Regions from separate parts of the Homo sapiens genome. Here regions 1, 2 and 3 are each linked to region 4. The links are contacts of gene promoters, found by promoter capture Hi-C in blood cells and fetal thymus (Javierre and others, 2016). All regions are on one chromosome and are shown on one strand. Each heading gives the region's core, a stretch centred on a gene start or on the middle of the fragment in contact. The rest is flanking DNA. Distances are from core to core; before and after follow the strand shown. Region 1 overlaps HTR3C (5-hydroxytryptamine receptor 3C). Region 2 overlaps ABCC5 (ATP binding cassette subfamily C member 5). Region 3 holds the start of HTR3E (5-hydroxytryptamine receptor 3E). Region 4 holds the start of ALG3 (ALG3 alpha-1,3- mannosyltransferase).

Region 1 (4,557 bases), core at 1,704-4,203, 190 kb after region 4:
GCCATGAGCCAAGATCGCACCATTGCACCCCAGCCTGGGCAACAAGAGCAAAACTCCATCTCAACAACAACAAAAAAAACCCTAACCTGTCGGGTATTAAGCTGATTACCTGGATGACAATATTATCTGTACACCAAACCCCTGCGATATGTAATTTACCCAGGTAACAAACCTGCACATGTACCCCTTGAACCTAAAAGTTGGAAAGAAAAAAAACAAAAAAAAACCCCCAAGTCTGTGTTAAGTATCCACGATGTGCCAGATGTGGTACCATGTGCTAAACTATAAAAATGGATGAGACGTTGACCCTGATCTTTATGAAAGCATACTCTTAGGGGAGGCAGAAGGGCCAACAAATAAATCCCTGAAATGTGTTTATCCAATTGAAATATCATCCAGAAATTTGTCGCTGGTGTTTTTTGACTTTCTCTTTCAATTTCTGTTTCTCCTCAGGGTCTTTCTTGCAGCTAGCTATTAGAATTCTCCCATGATTATAGCTGTTGATGAAGGTGTGAACTACTATATTATTATTATTATTTTTGAGACAGAGTCTTGCTCTATCACCCAGGCTGGAGTGCAGTGGCACAATCTCGGCTCACTGCAACTTCTGCCTCCCAGGTTCAATCAATTCTTCTGCCTCGGCCTCCCGAGTAGCTGGGACTACGGGTGCACACCACCATGCCCAGCTAGCTTTTGTATTTTTAGTAGAGATGGGGTTTCACCATATTGGCCAGGCTGGTCTCGAACTCCTGACCTTGCAATCCATCCACCTTGGGCTCCCAAAGTGCTAAGATTACAGGTGTGAGCTACCGAGCCCTGCTGTGAACTACTATTAACAGGGAACTTAAAAAACCTTTCTTCGTTTCATTTTATTTTTAAGAGACTGGTTCTTGCTCTGTTGCCCAAGCTGGATTGCAAGGGTGCGATCGTGGCTCCCTGTAACTTTGAACTGGGTTCAAGCGATCCTCCTACCTTAGTCCCTCGAGTAGCTAGGACTACAGGCATGTACCACTGCACCTGGCTAATTTTTAATTAATTAATTAGTTAATTATTATTTTTGTAGAGACAAGGTCTCGCTTTGTTGCCCAGGCTGGTCTCAAACTCCTAGCCTCTCTCCTCGGCCTCCCAAAGTGCTGGGATTACAGGCATGAACCCCCCAGCCTCAAGCACACATATTTAGAAAGCCCGCTCTGTTTGATGTTGTGAAGTAAGAGAAACCTGTTAGAATAAAAAAGAATGACACAAGATATGATTTATTTCAAAGAGCAATTTCAGGAATGAGAGGTAAAGGAAAGTGAAAAAGAAATGGTTGCTGAAAGGAACATTTTGCATTTGTAAATATTTTATTGCAAATGAAATAATTTCTTGCAAATAAGACTTGGCCTTCTTATTCTTATAAAACTCTGAAAGTATCTAAAACCCTTAAAATCACATCAGATTACACCTGCTTAGGGGGAAGTATCAAAGCTTCTGCAAGAGGACTCTCCACCGCAGAGTTTGTAGACTTATAATAAATATAATGAAGAGGGCTGGGCGAGGTGGCTCACGCTTGTAATCCCAACACTTTGGGAGGCCGAGGTGGGCGGAACACTTAAGGTCAGGAGTTCCAGACCAGCCTGGCCAACATGGCAAAACCCTGTCTCTACTAAAAATACAAAAATTACCTGGGTGTGGTGGTGTGCACCTGTAATCCCAGCTACTTGGGAAGCTGAGGCATGAGAATCATGCCTGGGAGGCGGAGGTTGCAGTGAGCTGAGATGGCATCATTTGCACTCTAGTGTGGGTGACAGAGTGAGACTCTGTCTCAATAAACAAACAAACAAACAAACAAACAAACAAACTGAAGAGCCAGTGCTTCCTGGAAAGTTGTTTATTGGGGTGATCAATCAAGGAGAGACTCCACTGACCTGGACTTCCATTGATCAGGGAGTGAGGAGTTAGGTGGTAGCTCAGGGAGACTGAGGGTGAGCAGGAATGAGCAGCCTGAGCAGCGGTCGGGAAATCGTCCAGGGCTGTCCCGAACCTGCTTGCTAGTGCTGCGTTGGAGTCTTTGGAATTTAGAAGGGGACATGGTAGTCACTGGGGATAAGTGGCTAAGATTAGGAAAATGAGTCCGGCTGGCCCAAGACCAGCAGAAACTCCAAGCTGTTGTTTGCCAGAGAGGGGGGATGTCTGCCTAGGTGTTCCAGAGGACAATGACAGTAAGGATGGAGGAGGCCATGAAGAGCAGGTAGAGGCGGAAGAGCAGGGTGTCCATCGCGTGGCTGAACTGCACCCACAGCTCCATTAGCTGGGTCTTTGTCCATCCTGAGCCCCCATCTGGCTCGGTCTCTCTGGGTCCCAGCTTCTTCCCTGCTAACTCCCCCGGCTCCTTTGGGCCTGTGGAGAGGACAGAGGCTCAGTCATGGAGTGGGAAGGGGACAGGATTAGAGGAGTGCTGGGCCCAGTGTGAAGGGCGAGTATGGACAGTGCTGGCTTCCCTCACCAGGCAGGTGGGTGAGGGTGAGACCCAGGCCCTTATTTCCCTTCTGGGGCGCAGTGGGACAGCATCTCCCTGGGCTGGTGCAGTGGAGCAGCAGGGAGTGAAGCCACCTAGGCATGGGTGGGGGCTGGGTGGTGGCCACGTGCAGCAGGTAGGTAATGAAGACGGTCTCCAGCAGGCTGACCACCATCAGGGACAGGCACAGGGCGAAGTAGACACCTGAGGGCAGAGCAAATTATAAATAAACCAGGCAAATTTATCTCTAAGCATTCCTCACGCCTCTTTCCTAAATCCAATCTTCTTTCACAGCCCCTTCCTTCCTTCAGTGGAGCAGCGGCCATTTCTCCTGGCCCTCCTCCCTGGCCCCGGGTGCCCTTTCTCCTCCTGAAAGTGGGAGGAGCCATACTGATGAGGGGGGTGCCACTGGCAGGGAGCAAGTCATTCATCATGAGCAGGAAGACGTTGTAGCCCAGCAGAAGTGTTATCTTGAATGGGGCACGATTCTCGCTCTCTGCTGGCAGGTAGAAGCTGAGGGCATCAATGGCAACCAGAAAGCTACTGGGCACCAGCAGGTTTATGATGTAGAGGCTTGGCCTGCGCCTGATGGCCACCTGGAGAGAGACCGGAGAAGATGGCAAATAAATAGATGTCAGAGGGCTCAATTTGTATATCTGACCCCTAATCTTTGCCAATGTGCTGTGAGGCTGCTGGGGACGATCTTTTTAAGTAACACTTTTGCATATAATTGTGCTCGCCTACATAGGGGCCTCTGATTTGTTGTCTAATTTTTATTCATTTTTAACCTACTAGGAACACAATGACTGTAGAATTTTAGGTGCAAGTGGGCCCTTTAAGTCATTCTGAGCAGTAGGGGTGAGCTGATCCATTCTGAGCAGCAGGGCTTATTACAGTCCAGCCATTCCTGCCCTCTCCAGAGCAGGAGTGGGTGAATGAGGAGTGGGCAAATGGGGAGTGGGGGAGGCCTTGGGGATCCTGCTTCAGGGCAATTAGGTAGATGGGGCAGTGGGGAGCAGGTGCCCAACCCTCTGGAGCTTTATTTTTATTTTATTTTATTTTTTGAGACGGAGTCTTATTCTGTCTTGCCCAGGCTGCAGTGCAGTGGCATTATCTCAGCTCACTGCAGCCTCCGCCTCCTGGGTTCAAGTGATTCTCCTGTCTCAACCTCCCGAGTAGCTGGGACTACAGGCATGTGCCACCACACCCAGCTAATTTTTGTGTTTTTTAAATTAGAGACGGGGTTTCACCATGTTGGCCAGGCTGGTCCTGAACTCCTGACCTCATGATCCGCCTCCCTCGGCCTCCCAAAGTACTGGGATTACAGGTGTGAGCCACTGCACCCGGCCTGGAGCTTCTTTTTTGCTTCCCAAAGAGCCATAGGTCAAGAGGACAATCAAAGAGCTGCTGGGATCAGAAGTCAAACAGGGGCCCCTGGACTCACATAAAACATGATCTGGTCATATAGGTTGTTGCCCATGGACATCTTTGGGGTGGCCTTGTTGATGCCCAAGAGCTCCCACTCCCCCTGGGTTTGGATGACTTTGCGAGACGTGTCTGTGATCTCCCACACCTCCTTGTCCATGCCCAGCAGCATGCTGTCCACTGGAAGGGAGGCCGGTCAGTTCATTGCAGACGTTTTCCCAAGCCTCCCGCCCACGAAATTGGAGTCCTCCCCCACTGAGCTTCTAAACCAAATTTTCCTCTATCCTTTTAAAGCAAGGTATCCTGGTTTTCTCAGAAGTGGGTTACCCGACTAGCAATTCATATGTGTGTGGGCAGCGGCATTAATTTCTTTTGTTGTTGAAAACAAGAGTGAGTCAAGTTCGTTATGGGAATATTGGATATGACTGAAACGTGAGTCAAGAACTTTTGGAGTCATTCCTATTTTCCTTCTCAGTCCCCCAGTCGTATGGTGGTGTTTTAGTGGAATCAAGCTTGAATAGCTCAATATTTTAATAATTATAGGCATGCCCATTTTGATGGTTTTAGTTTATCCAAATCTGCCACATGACACCTGGTGGCATTCGGTTATATTAATTTACCGGTTTTTAAGTGTG
Region 2 (4,808 bases), core at 387-2,886, 240 kb after region 4:
CTTGTTGTACTAAAACACATCTTTTTTCGTATAATGGGTAATTTAGAAACTTATTTTTTGGCCGGGCGCGGTGGCTCACGCCTATAAACCCAGCACTTTGGGAGGCTGAGGCGGGTGGATCATCTGAGGTCAGGAGTTCGAGACCAGCCTGACCAACATGGTGAAAACCTGTCTCTACTAAAAGTACAAAAATTAGCCAGGCGTGGTGGCGGGCGCCTATAATCCCAGATACTTGCGAGGCTGAGGCACGAGAATCGCTTGAACCCAAGAGGCGGAGGTTGCAGTGAGCTGGGATCATGCCACTGCACTCCAGCCTGGGCGATAGAGCGAGACTCAGTCTCAAAAAAAAATGTGTTTTTCTTTATTGGCTTTAGGTTACTGTTAAGAATTTATGGTTATTGATAAGTCTCTGGTCCATAGTAAGCACTCAATAAGTGGAAGAGAGGCTGGCTGTCACCCTCTCACCCGGTCTGTTCTGAGCATTCTCCTCTTTTTCACTTTTATTCTATGTTGGTGCCTTCTGAAAAGGCTATACTTAACAGAAGACAACTTATTGAGGGGGAGGGGGTCATGGGGTCAATGACAGGGAATATAAAGCCAATTAAGCTTCATTCATGTACCTAAACAAAATTGGTGTTTTCTTCTACTTTCTGTCATGTGTGTTTAAAATGTGAACCTGGCCAGGCACAGTGGCTCATGCTTGTAATCCCAGCACTTTGGGAGGTTGAGGTGGGTGGGTCACTTGAGGTCAGGAGTTTGAGACCAGCCTGGCCAACACGGTGAAACCCTGTCTCTGCTAAAAATACAAAAATTAGTGAGGTGTGGTGGTGGGCACCTGTACTCCCAGCTACTCAGGAGGGAGGCAGGAGAATTGCTTGAATCCAGGAGGCAGAGGTTGCAGTGAGCCAAGATCACGCCACTGCACTCCAGCCTGGGCAACAGAGTGAGACTCCGTCTCCAAAAAAATAAAAAATAAAATAAAATGTGAATCCTTTGGAGAGACTCAGATTTCAGAACAATTCTAGATAGTTGTGGGATTATCAGTATGTTTTTCAAGCGAATTCATAAGTTAAGCAGTCTTTAGATAATAATCTAATTTCCTCCAAGGGAAATAATGAAGATGCGTTTTTACCTCGAGAAAATATTCTTTTTCCTGAGGAAAAAAAGCATTATACCTTTTCTTACAAAAGTACCTAATAAGGCAGAATGGACTAGGTTTAGGAAGTTGAGGTTTTTGTTGGTGTATTTGTTATGTGAAAATTTGAGAAAGATAATGGACTTTGCAGCTGACACTGGCCTTTCCTTAGCCTGATACTACCTTTCCCTCTTTGGTTGTGTTAAAGCCATTGCTTTATTAATGAACATTTTCTTGCTAATGAGTCTTTTCTGTACCCTACTGTGTATTATAGAATGCTTTTCCATTCAGGTTTAACTTCAGAGAAACAGGCTTAATGTAATCAGTGTCAAATGCTTCTCGTGGTGCCAGTTTTATAACTTCCTCATGTCCTTTTGTCTAGACCTTATGTTGATTAAACATCTATCCATTACATCTGAGTGCTAGACACATTTAGTGTAACAGTTAAGTCTGGAAAAAGTCAGAAGGTAACATTGGGGCAGGGCCTTAAAGGGTGATTAGGTGGGGAGGCTTTTTAGGCGGTACAAGTACAGACCCAAAGGTATGGAAAGAGCGTGTGACATATTGGGACTTTGGATAAGCTACTTACGTCATTTGTATATAAAATGGGGTTGACAGTAGTACCTGACTCATGGGATCACTGAGGAGTAAATGAGATAATACATATAAAATATTTAAAATGGTACCTGGCACATGGCCAGTGCTCAATAAATGTTAGCTCTTAGAACTAGTTGTTCAGGGCATAGGATGTGTAAAGAGATTATAGGTCGGGTGAAATTCTGCATGCCATGCTAAGAAATATTTCACTGTGGGCATTAGGGAACTATTGGAAGTTAATGAGATTAAAAAAAAAAACCTTTTTATTTTGAGCTAACTGTAGATTTACATGCAATTATAAAAAATAATATAGAGATCCTATATATTCTTCATCCAGTTTCCCCCAGTGGTAACATCTTGCATAACTATAGTCCAGTATCACAACAGGATAATGATTGACATTGATACAATCCATTGACTTTAGGATTTCACCAGTTTTATATGCACTCATTTGTGTGTGTGTGTGTGTGTGTGTGTGTGTGTGTTGTGTTCTATGCATTTTTTAAAGGTGTAAATTTGTGTGACCGCTTCCACAGTCAGGATGCAAAGGTTCCATCACAAGGATCTCTCGTTACCCTTTTATAGCCACAGTCATGTCCCCTCAACCCCAGTCTCTGGCAACTGCTAATCTTTTCTCCATTTCTGTAATTTTGTCATTTTAAGAATGCTATATACATTGAATCATATAGTATATAACCTTTCGAGATTGCTTTTTTCACTCAGCTGAACTCCCTTGATAGCCATCTAATTTTGTTGTGTGCATCAATAGTTCTTTCCTTTGTATTGCTGAGTAGCATTCCGTGTTATAGATGTACCATAGCTTCTTTAACCATTCATTTGTTAAAGGACATATGGGTCATTTCCAGTTAATGGCAATTATACATAAAGGTGCTCTGAACCTTCAGTTACAGGATTTTGTGTGAACATAAGCTTTTATTTCTCTGGATTAATGCCCAGGACTGCGCTTGCTGGGTCATATGGTAAGTGCATATTTAGTTTGTAAGAAACTGCAGTACTCTTTCCCAGAGTGTCTGTGCCATTTTACATTCCCACCAGCAATGATCCAGTTTTTCCACATTGTTGCCAGTACTCAATGTTATAATGTTTATTTTAGCCATTCCTATAGATGTGCCTGGTATCTGATTGTGGTTTTAATTTGCAGTTCCCTAATGGCTACGATGTTTGAGAGTAGATTTTTATCTTAGATTAGTCTTGAAGCAATGCAGAAAAAAACCTGTACAGGAGAAAGAGACCAAATATAAAGAGCATTCAGGAAGCGGCTCTGCCTATCCATGTCAGAGAGGCCAGGGTTCTGTTGTAAAGCACAGAAGTGAGGATGGAGGAAAGGCGTTTCTAGAAGATAGGGAGGCATTGGGGTGTCTGGGATTGATGGTAAGGATTTAAACCTATTCGTGGACATAAGAAAAGGAGATTGGGGAGATATTAAGAATGAGTTTGGGCCGGGCACGGTGGCTCACGCCCGTAATCCTAGCACTTTGGGAGGCCGAGGCTGGTGGATTGCCTGAGCTCAGGAGTTTGAGACCAGCCTGGGCAACACAGTGAAACCCCATCTACTTGGGAGGTTGAGGCAGGAGAATCGCTTGAACCTGAGAGGCGGAAGTTGCAGTGAACCAAGATCGCGCCATTGCACTCCAGCCTGGGCAACAGAGTGAGACTCCATCTCCAAAAAAAAAAAAAAAAGAAGAAGAATGATTTTGATTTTGAAGATGTTGAATTTGAAGTGCATATGGGTAAAATTATCAGTAGGTAGAGCATAGACAAGAAGTAGTGTAGGAAAAAACATTTAGAGCCTTTAGTGTGTCCACATAGGTGAAGCTGTGAGAGTGAGCAGGCTTACCCAAGGATGGCTTGCAGAGCAGGAGAAGGTGGAGGCTGTGGAGCTGGTGTGTGGTCCTGTGAAATTTCTGGGGATAGGGTCCCCAGCTTGTGAGAGTAGAGTTGACATCAGGGTTTGCAGTGGCAGCAGCGAGCTTTTCCTCTACGAAGTGGAGAAGAACAGCAGGTAGGCACCGCTGGGCTTTGAGTACCCTAAAGGATATGGAGTCAGCCACCACTGTAGCAGGTTTTCAACATGCCACTGAAGCCTTATCTCAGAGAAATATGAAGGCTAATACCACTTTTATAAAATTTCAGGAATCCACATGAATTTTATGAATTTTATTTTTATTATTCTTTCATGTTTCCTAAACTTTTTTTTTTTTTTTTTTTTTTTGAGACGAAGTCTCCTTCTGTCACCCAGGCTGGAGTGCAGTGGTGCAATCTCAGCTCACTGCAACCTCCACCTCCCGGGCTCAAGCAATTCTCCTGCCTCAGCCTCCTAAACAGCAGGTGCCTACCTGCTGTTCTCTGTTACCACATTGGCCAGGCTGGTCTTGAACTCCTGAGCTCAAGTGATCCGCCTGCCTTGGCCTCCCAAAGTACTGGGATTACAGGCGTCAGCCACCACATCTGGCCATGAACTTTTATTTTTTATTAAATTTTTTTTGTTTGTTTTTTTGTAGAGGCACTCTCACTGTTGGCCAGGCTGTTGTTGAACTCCCAGCTTCAAGCAAGCCTCCCGCCTCAGCCTCCCAAAGTGCTGGGATTACAGGCATGTGGCACCACACCCTGCCCCTAAACTTTGAAATTTGAGTACTGTTTTCCTGATTTTTACTGTATCCTTGTAATCTCTGAACTTTTTTAAAAGATTTCTTTTATTCTACTCTCTTTCTGTTACTTAGTCTAGACCTAGCAAAACAACAACAATAAGCCCATAGGTTTATTCAAGCTATTTTTGTATATACATTAAAATGAATGCATCGCTACTAAGTATTTTTGTAAGTTCAGACACCATCTAGAATCTGCTTGACCGTTACCTGTCAAAAAACAAAATTTCTCAGATGTATTTATCTTTAACTTGTCTTCATGTTACAAGTTTGCTGACAGAAGCAACCAGCAAGATGACAAGAAATTTTGTGGTCTGAGAAAATTGTATAAATGGTATAAAATGGATAATGTAAGTAGTTGGGAAGCAGAATTCCTGTATAAGCATATAGTTTTTCTTTTTTTAAAGTAA
Region 3 (4,783 bases), core at 238-2,737, 150 kb after region 4:
GCCCAGAGGAGCTTTCATAACCATTTACACTGCCTAGACCAGGTGTACAATTTGTGTCTCTTCCCTGTGCTGGCCTTTAAAGTCACCTCTGGTTCAGTCCTCTCCTGTGCCTCCTTATCCAAAGTCATGGAATAATCTAACGAGGAGAGATGACAGTTATTGGCACTTTTACCAAGTGCCAGACACTGTGCTTCCCTCCTTCTCTTACTGAATCCTCACAACCCTGCAAGGTAGGTTCTGTTTTACAGATGAGGAAACCAGAGCTCAGATAAGTTAAGCAGTGCATCCAAGTTTATAAAACTAGCAACGTGAGACACCAAGATTCAAACCCAGGTCCACCTGTCTCCAAATCCCATGTTCTTGTCTCTCTACCATGCTGACCCCCTGGAAGAGAAGCACATTCTACTTTCACCCTTGACCTGCTGCCTTCTGGCACCTTACCTAACCTAGAGCCCTTGGATCCAGCAGATGGACAGGGAAATTATGGCTAAAGGAGGTGGGCACTTTGCTACAATGGTTTGGGTTTCATACCTGTAGAGAGAAAGAATTACACCTGTGGATAGAAAGATGGATGGATATAGAAGCTAAATACAAGAGAAGACGATCGTGGATGGTTGTCTTCCATGTAGGGTACCAATGGAGAAAAGACAGACTTTTCAAGTAGTATTGGGAAAACTGGATATCCATATGTGAAAGGATAAAGTTTGCTGGTGTTGAACTCTATTTTTCGAGAAGGAAAATGAAAGTGCTCTTGTTTGGCATGTAACTGGAAGGGGATTTTCCGTCTTTCAGAAAAGGAAAGTCTATGTGGGCATCTTAGTAATGTAGCTATGAAAGAACTCTATCCATCTTAGACAATCTCTAGGAGTTGGAAATTTGAAAAAAGTTCCTAGATGTTCTACTAGAGAGAGGTCCTCCTTCTTCCGCCTTCCCCCATCATTGCTCCTTTCTTACCTTGAAGCAGAAAACCGAGAAGGAGGTAGAAGGAAAATCTTTTCCTGTGGAACCAGCTTCCTTCCATCTTCTTTGTCTAAGTTCTTCTCTGAACATGTACTGGGACCCAGGAATGCCCAGATTAAAGCAGCACAGGCCACACCTAGAGTCTGACTTTGAATACTAATAGCATTGGTTGACCACTGACATTTGTAACCTTCCTTCAAAGAGTGTTCTGGTTGTCTTGTTCTTGCCTATGCTTAAGGTTCAGTCTGCTTTTAAGACTTTATCTTAGTCTTAGGTATTTCACTGCAACGTAAATGGTTATAGATAGTTCATACGTGATCAACTTGCAGATCTTGGTGAGATCCCTTGGTCTGAAGACTCATCTCTTCAATTTTGGAAAATTCTCAGACATTTATAAATGTTTCACTTCCTCTATTTTTCTTATTAGACATGTGTTGAATGGTTTCCTTCTATCTTACATGCCTTTTATTGCTGTTGTAACAAATCACAAACCCAGTGGCTTAAATAAACACAATTTGTTATTTTACTGTTCTGTGGGCCAGAAGTTTGAAATGGGTCTCACTGGGCTAAAATGAATGTGTCAGCAGGACCGCATTCCCTCTGGAGGCTCTAGAGGAGAATCCATTTCCTTGCCTTTTCCAGATTTTTTTTTTTTTGAGACAGGGTTTCACTCTGTTGACCAGGCTGGAGTGCAGTGGCGCAATCGCGACTCACTGCAGCCTTGACCTCCTGGGCTCAAGGGATCTTTCCGTCTCAGCCTCCCAAGTAGCTGGGACCTCACAGGTGTGAGCCACCAAGCTTGGCTATTTTTTTTTTTTTTAGTAGAAATGAGGTCTCGCTTTGTTGCCTAGGCTTGTCTCCAACTCCTGGCCTCAAGTGATCCTCCAACCTTGATCTCCCAAAGTGCTGGGATTATAGACATGAGCCATTGTACCCGGCCTTTTCCAGCTTTTAAACTGCCTGTATTTCTTGGTTCATTATTTTTACTTCTCCATCTTCAAAACCAGCAACATCAGGCCAATGTTTCTCACAAGGCATCTCATCTCTCTGGTTCTTATTTGTTTCTCTCTCCTTCTTCCACTTATAAGAGCCTTTGTGATTGCATTGTGTCCATTTGGATAATCCAGGATAGTCTCCCCATCTCAAAGTCCGATAATTAACAACCTTAATTCCATCTGCAACCTTAACTCCCCTTTTCCATATAACCTAAGGTTCCAGAGATTAGGATGTGGACAAATTCTGGGGGCCGTTATTCTGCCTAGCACACCTCTCTTTCCTATTTTCTACCTCTTTATCTCTGTCCCTAATGATTTCTTCAGATCTAGCTTCCAGGAAAAAAATTCTCTCCTCAACTGTGTTTATTTTAATTAATTAATTAATTAATTTTTGATGAAACTCAGTAATTTTTATTGCAACTGGAAGACAATACATTGCAGAAACTTTATGGTAGGTCTGGGGAAAAGTGTTATTTACAATAGATTATGACATAATTTGTCTTTGACAATATGATTACATACGAAGAATGCAAAATGCAAGTATGGATGCCTTCCATATTTTATTTTATTTTGAGATGGAGTCTCATTCTGTTGCCCAGGCTAGAGTGCAGTGGCGTGATCTTGGCTCACTACAGCCTCCACCTCCTTGATTTGAGCGATTCTCCTGTCTCAGCCTCCTGAGTAGTTGGGACTACAGGCTTGTGCCACCACACCCAGCTAATTTTTGTATTTTTATTAGAGACAGGGTTTCACCATGTTGTCCAGGCTGGTCTTGAACTCCTCACCTCAGCTGATCTGCCCACCTCGGCCTTCCAAAGTGCTGGGATTACAGGAGTGAGCCACTGTGCTTGACCCTCAACTGTGTCTAATCTGTCCATCTAATCTGCCCACTGAGTTTTGGTTTTGTTTTTTTGTTTTTTTGTTTTTTAGAGAGAGGGTTTCACTGTCTCCCACCATGCCTGGCCCTCAACTGTGAGCCACCATGCTGGGATTACAGACGTGAGCCACCGTGCCCGGCCCTCAGCTGTGTCTAATCTGTCCACTGAGTTTTGCTTTTTGTTTTGTTTTGTTTTTTTTAGAGACAGGGTCTCACTGTCTCCCAGGCTGGAGTACAGTGGTATGATCATAGCTCACTGTAGCCTTGAACTCCAGGGCTCAAGCAATCCTGCCACCTCAGCCTCCCAAGTAGCTGGGACTACAGGTGCATGCCACCATGTGTGGCTAATTTTTTTTTATTGTTTCTAGAGACAGGGCCTTGCTATGCTGCCCAGGCTGGTGTTGAACTCCTGGCCTCAAGCAATCCTCCTGCCTCAGCCTCCCAAATCACTGGAATTTACAGGTATGAACCACTATGGCTAACCTTTTACCCATTTTTAAATCAAGTTGTTTTTTGTTGTTGAGTTTCAGGAATTCTATGTATAGTTTGGATATTAATCCCTTATCAGCTATATAATTTGCAAATGTTTTCTCCCATTTTGTGGGTTGTCTTCTTTCCTCTGTTAATAGTGTCTTTTGATTCATAGATGTTTAATATTTTCATGAAGTACTATTTGTCTATTTTTTCTTTTGTTGCCTATGCCTTTGTGTCATATCCAAGAAATCACTGCTAACTCCAATGTTTTGAAGCTTTTTCCCTATGTGTTCTTTTAGGAGTTTTATTGTTTTAGGTCTACACTTAAATCTTCTTTTTTTTTTTTGAGACGGAGTTTCACTCTTGTTGCTCAGGCTGAGTGCAATGGCATGATCTCAGCTCACTGCAACCTCCACCTCCTGGGTTCAAGTGATTCTCCTGCCTTAGCCTCTCAAGTAGCTGGGATTACAGGCATGTGCCACTACCCCCAGCTAATTCTGTATTTTTAGTAGAGACGGGGTTTCTCCATGTTGGTCAGGCTGGACTCGAACTCCCCACCTCAGGTGATCTGCCCGCCTCAGCCTCCCAAAGTGCTGGGATTACAGGAGTGAGCCACCGCGTCCAGCCCTACATGTAAAATATTTTATCCATTTTGAGTTAATTTTGGTATATGGTTTTAGGTAAGGGTCAAACTTCATTTCTTTGCATATGGATATCCAGTTTTCCCAATACTACTACTTGAAAAGTCTGTCTTTTCCCCATTGGAACTCTTGCAAAAATAATTTGGCCATTTGTGTGACGGTTTATTTCTGGGTTCTCTATTCTATTCCATTGCTATACATGTCTGTCTCTTTTTTTTTTTTTTTTTTTGAGACGTAGTTTCACTCTTGTTGCCCAGGCTGGAGAGAAATGGCACGATCTCCACTCACCACAAGCTCCGCCTCCCAGGTTCAAGCAATTCTCCTGCCTCAGCCTCCCGAGTAGCTGGGATTACAGGCATGCTCCACCATGCCTGGATAATTTTTTGTATTTTTAGTAGAGATGGGGTTTCTCCATGTTGGTCAGGCTGGCCTTGAACTCCCAACCTCAGGTGATCCGTCTGCCTCAGCCTCCTGTGTAGCGGTGATTACAGGTGTGAGCCACTGTGCCCAGCCTTTTTTTTTTTATTATTTGAGACAGAGTCTCACTCTGTCGCCCAGGCTGGAGTGCAATGGCACAATCTTGGCTCACTGCAACCCGCACCTCCTGGATTCAAGTGATTCTCCTGCCTCAGCCTCCCAACTAGCTGGGATTACAGGTGCATGCCACCACGACCAGCTAATTTTTGTATTTTTAGTAGAGACGAGGTTTCACCATGTTGGTCAGTCTGGTCTCAAACTACTGACCTCAGGTGATCTTCCCGCCTCAGCCTCCCAAAGCGCTGTGATTACAGGTGTGAGCCACCGTGCCCAGCCTGTAGTATGTTTTGAAATCAGGG
Region 4 (4,605 bases), core at 333-2,832:
ACCTCAAGAGGTCAGCCGAACACCCCAGAGCCCTACCTTTCCTCCAGCACGTCTCCCTTTGGGGAATCGTATCACCCTGGGCGGCAATCTCCCCTCCACCCCTAGAGGGTGCTGTTCTCACTCTCTAAGGCATAGGACCAAGTTTCAGACAGGACTCTCTCTAGGTGACTCTGGCTCCCAGTGCCCAGGGGCAAAAAGAAAAGCGCTGGGCATTATTCTCGAGGTGCCTGCGCGTGCCGCCTCCGATGTGAACTCGCAGTACCATTTCTAGAACTGAATCTAAAGCTCAGAACGGGTTCATGACTTGTCCTAAGTTTTACAAGTCAATTAGCGCTAGGACTTGATCTCGGTCCTCTGAGCAATCCGGTCCCCAAGGCTGCCTGCCTCCCGAGGGTCCGGACAGGGTCTTGGGTACCCCCAACGCTCAAACTCTGAGGGACTGTCTTTCTCCAGAGGGCCCCGGGACCAACAATCTCTTACTCCTGTTAGCCTTGACTAAATACAGCCGGGACTCTGAAGGAGCTGGATCTCGCGTCCCAACGCAGGCGTCCTCCAAGAGGGATAGACAGGCGGGAGGAAAGCGGACCAGGCCAAGCCCATGCGGCGCCGGTCCTGCCAGCTCTACCTGGCGGGGCCGCGCCGGGATTACCCACCTAGCACAAGGATACGGTCCTCGGGCCGCAGCTCCGGCTCTAGGAGGGCACGGAAGGAGGAGAAGTCCCCGAACCAATCGTAGGGGGCAGAATCGGCTGCGCCTTGGTAGCGCTGATCCCAGTACTCGACTTCGCGGTACCCGCAGTTCCGCTCCGGTAACTCCGGAGGCGCCCTACCTGCCCCTGGAGAGGCCATGCTCTCAACCGCCGGGCAGCCAGAGCCGCCGGCCCTTCAGCCAATACGGAAGGCAGGATGCAGAAGGCGGGGCGCTGGTGTCTCCGCCCACCACCTGCAGTTGCTCAACACAAACACGTGGAACTTCCGTCCTTTACTAAGCGCTCTTCGAAGAATCCTCCGGCTGGGAAAACTATCGTCCAGACCCTGAATCCTCCGGCTGTACTGCCAAGTCATTTCCTAGGGCCGCACTCAAGGTGTCAGACTCACGTGGGCTCATCACTGCGTCCTCTCATATTTTCAATATGAATGACTTTTATCAGGAAATCTGAAAATTAGTGAAAGGTTCATTTTTCTCAGCATCCGGAAGGCTCGAAGGGCAGGCAGGAGGGGCGCGAACAGGGGCTTTGCCCTCCTGGAGAGACAGCATGAACACAGATGTTCCCAGCGCAGGCGAAGGAGAATGCTGGCTTCAGCGGTTGTGGGGGAGGTAGGCAGGAATGTTGCTTTTCTGGACATTCGTTCTAAATTAGCGCCTGTGTACCCAGGGCTGGGTATAAACTGAGGAGTAAGACATTGTCCCTGCTCCTATGGAGCGTGGAGTGCATCAGAGGAGACAAATGCAGAAAAATTACATTTTAGTGGAGTAAATGAAGACTGGCTACTCGGATCGGCGCTTAGCCTGGTGGGACGCCAGGCACGGGAAGCGGAACCTAAGTGTCGAAGGTTCGGGTTTCCGGGGGTGGTGGGCCCACACAAGCGGCGCACCGTTAAGATGGCGGCTGGGCTGCGGAAACGCGGCCGGTCCGGTTCCGCGGCCCAGGCAGAGGGACTCTGCAAGCAATGGCTGCAGCGCGCCTGGCAAGAGCGGCGCCTGCTGCTGCGGGAGCCGCGCTACACGCTGCTGGTGGCCGCCTGCCTCTGCCTGGCGGAGGTGGGCATCACCTTCTGGGTCATTCACAGGGTGGCATGTGAGTGCGCCGAGGGGGAGGGGAGGGGAGGGAGGGAGACCTGAACCCGCGACCCAAACTGGATCTCAGACCTGGAACTCCAAACCAGACTCTGTATCCACTCACTCGTCAATTGCGAACCCATCCATATCCCTTACCTGAGCGCCAAGCCTGCTCTACAGAAAACCGGATCTTAATCTGCCCGCATGGCAGAGGTGGATACCCTAGAGATTGGCCTTCTGCACTGAACTTACAGCCTGCAAACCAGCTTAGAAGTCAGATTTGAGCCAAAATTGTTGTACTGCTGCTGCTGCTGCTTTTCTCTGTGGCTTTGGACACCTCAGGTCTCCTCCTGGATCTCAGCTTTTTCCATGTGTTCAGTTCTGTGATCTTTGAACGTCCCTTCTCAATGATGGCATCTTGTGACCACTTGAGTCCATTAGGCATTATTGGCTACTCCTTTCCAGGCTGAAACTATACTCTAGGCTTAAGGCACTTGGCTTTCTTGCTAAAGACTCTTAATTCAACAAATATTTATTTAGTGCTTATTATATGCCTAGCATTATGCTGGTTACCAGAGAGAGGTACAGTGGTGAATAAGAGATGCATTTCTGCCGGGCGCGGTGGCTCACGCCTGTAATCCCAGCACTTTGGGAGGCCGAGGCGGGCGGATCACGAGGTCAGGAGATCGAGGCCATCCTGGCTAACACGGTGAAACCCCGTCTCTACTGAAAAAAAAAAAAAAAAAAGAATTTAGCCGGGCATGGTGGCGGGCGCCTGTAGTCCCAGCTACTCGGGAGGCTGAGGCAGGAGAATGGCGTGAACCCGGGAGGCAGAGCTTTCAGTGAGCCGAGATCACGCCACTGCACTCCAGCCTGGGCGACAGAGCAAGACTCCGTCTCAAAAAAAAAAAAAGAAAAAGGATGCATTTCTAACTCGGGCCTGGACAGTAAGTTAGCAGGCAATTATAATGCATCATAATCATGGTAGTAGTAACACAGGATACCATAAAGGGCATAGGAAGTCACTTAAACCAGGTTGGAGGAGTCAGCAAAGGCTTCATAGAGCCACCCTTGGAAGGTAGGAATTAGCTATTTAAGGAAAGAAGAAAAAGGTGAGGGGAAGGAGTGCTGTGGACAGAGGATCCTCTATTAAAAATCTCCAGCTAGGCTGGGCGCAGCGGCACACGCCTGTAATCCCAGCACTTTGGTAGGCCTAGGCGGGTGGATCTCCTGAGGTCAGGAATTTGAGACCAGCCTGGCCAACATGATGAAATCCTGTCTCTACTAAAAATACAAAAATTAGCTGGGCGTGGTGGCATATGCCTGTAATCCCAGCTACTCGGGAGGTTGAGACAGGAGAATTGCTTGAACCCGGGAGGTGGAGGTTGCAGTGAGCCGAGATTGCGCCACTGTACTCCAGCCTGGGTGACAGAGCAAGCTCCGTGTCAAAAAAAAAAAAAATTCAGTTAGACTGGGCACGGTGGCTCATGCCTGTAATCCCAGCACTTTGGGAGGCTGAGGTGGGCGGATCACTTGGGGGCAGGAGTTAAAGACCAGCCTGGCTGGGCACGGTGGCTTATGCCTGTAATTCTAGCACTTTGGGAGCCCGAGGCGGGCAGATCACCTGAGGTCAGGAGTTCAACACCAGCCTGGCCAATATGTTGACACCCTGTCTCTACTAAAATAGAAAAATTAGCTGGGCATGATGGCAAGTGCCTGTAATCCCAGCTACTTGGGAGGCTGAGATGGGAAAATGGCTCGAACCGGGGAGATGGTGGTTGCAGTGAGCTGAGATCGCACCACTGCACTCCAGCCTGGGTGGCTGAGCGAGACCCTGTCTCAAAAGAAAAACAAACAAACAAACCAGCCTGGCCAACACGGTGAAACCCCATCTCTACTAAAAATACAAAACTTAAAAAATTAGCCAAGCATGGTGGCACACACCTGTAGTCCCAGCTACTCGGGAGACTGAGGCAGGAGAATCACTTGAACCCGGGAGGCGGAGGTTGCAGTGAGCTGAGATCGTACCACTGCACTCCAGTCTGGGTGACAGAGTGAGACTCTGTCAAAAAAAAAAAAAAAAGAAGACAGCCTGGTTCCTTTGAGGAACTGAAATGATTTTTTTAGAGCTAGAGTGTAGAAATCAAGTGAAGGGAGTAGTAAGAGATGGGAATGCAGAAACTGAGGCCAGATCATGAAGGAATTTGAAAGCTTTGTTAAGAAGATAGCATGATAATTAAGAACTTGGGACCCTGCAAGCTTCAATCCCAACTCCACCATCCTAGCTCAATTATCTTAAGCCAGTCACTTAACCTAATTAATTCTTAGGCTCCCCTTCAAAAAATGGGAATAATACAGAGTTTTCTTTATCTTAAGGGTCTTGGGGAATCATTGAGAGGTTTTAAGCAGAGGCCTGTTATGATTTGTATTTTAGGAGGAGCTCTTTGGTGTACGAGGTGGAAAATATATTGTAGCAGGGTGAAAGTAGAAGTCAGGAGCCTAATTAGCAGGCTATTGTATACTCATTGGGGCTAGAGATTACTTTAGGCTCAAATTTGAGTATGTAGTAGCAGAGAAGGATGAGATAGAGATATTTACGGTGAGGAACAGGCAGAACTTGTTGACGAAGGGTTGCAAATGAGAGAGGAGGGAGTATCAAAGATGTTACTCAGGTTCGTGACCTGGTAGCTAAGAGGTCGGTGGTGCCATTTGCGGAACCCAGGAAAAGGAGTAGATTGGAATGGGAAGAAAGATCACAAATTCACTTATAGAAATGTTGAGTTTGAGATGCCTGGGCTCACCCAGAGAATGTCAGATAAAGAGTT

What was found. Contacts are between HindIII fragments. The CHiCAGO score rates a contact against its expected background, and 5 or more counts as called.
Region 1: a contact is called between a fragment that was not itself captured here and the fragment with the promoter of ALG3 in region 4, in 1 of 17 cell types (M1 macrophages). The highest score is 6.9, in M1 macrophages.
Region 2: a fragment that was not itself captured here is called in contact with the fragment with the promoter of ALG3 in region 4 in 3 of 17 cell types (endothelial precursors, M2 macrophages and erythroblasts); the score reaches 7.5 in endothelial precursors.
Region 3: a contact is called between the fragment with the promoter of HTR3E here and the fragment with the promoter of ALG3 in region 4, in 9 of 17 cell types (M0 macrophages, endothelial precursors, M1 macrophages and 6 more). The highest score is 20.6, in M0 macrophages.

Annotation. Positions count from the first base shown.
Region 1 is chr3:184,057,972-184,062,528 of GRCh38, reverse strand. HTR3C (5-hydroxytryptamine receptor 3C) reads right to left here. Exons shown (of 9, transcript NM_130770.3): 6 at 3,942-4,102; 7 at 2,889-3,093; 8 at 2,486-2,701; 9 at 1,856-2,379. The coding sequence ends at 2,177. Among named protein-coding and RNA genes, the nearest start is that of HTR3C, 7.2 kb to the right of the region's middle. The HindIII fragment of the contact is 2,967 bases long and covers 1,470-4,436 here.
Region 2 is chr3:184,009,424-184,014,231 of GRCh38, reverse strand. The region is part of intron 2 of ABCC5 (ATP binding cassette subfamily C member 5); the gene reads left to right. ABCC5-AS1 (ABCC5 antisense RNA 1) reads right to left here. Exons shown (of 3, transcript NR_046570.1): 2 at 3,591-3,781; 3 at 2,813-2,966. LOC124909468 (a long non-coding RNA gene) reads left to right here and starts at 4,281. Exons shown (of 2, transcript XR_007096191.1): 1 at 4,281-4,407; 2 at 4,668-4,808. RefSeq lists an enhancer at 2,627-3,826. The HindIII fragment of the contact is 2,056 bases long and covers 609-2,664 here.
Region 3 is chr3:184,093,768-184,098,550 of GRCh38, reverse strand. HTR3E (5-hydroxytryptamine receptor 3E) reads right to left here and starts at 1,487. Exons shown (of 9, transcript NM_001256613.2): 1 at 955-1,487. The coding sequence starts at 1,021. HTR3E-AS1 (HTR3E antisense RNA 1) reads left to right here. Exons shown (of 3, transcript NR_133658.1): 3 at 3,201-3,433. The HindIII fragment of the contact is 4,461 bases long and covers 1-1,760 here.
Region 4 is chr3:184,245,939-184,250,543 of GRCh38, reverse strand. ALG3 (ALG3 alpha-1,3- mannosyltransferase) reads left to right here and starts at 1,582. Exons shown (of 9, transcript NM_005787.6): 1 at 1,582-1,799. The coding sequence starts at 1,604. EEF1AKMT4-ECE2 (EEF1AKMT4-ECE2 readthrough) reads right to left here and starts at 872. Exons shown (of 19, transcript NM_014693.4): 1 at 654-872. The coding sequence starts at 849. It overlaps EEF1AKMT4 (EEF1A lysine methyltransferase 4), which reads right to left and starts at 872. Exons shown (of 3, transcript NM_032331.4): 1 at 654-872. The coding sequence starts at 849. RefSeq lists enhancers at 986-1,095, 1,126-1,185, 1,266-1,315, 1,514-2,257, 2,258-3,001. The HindIII fragment of the contact is 5,512 bases long and covers 1-3,993 here.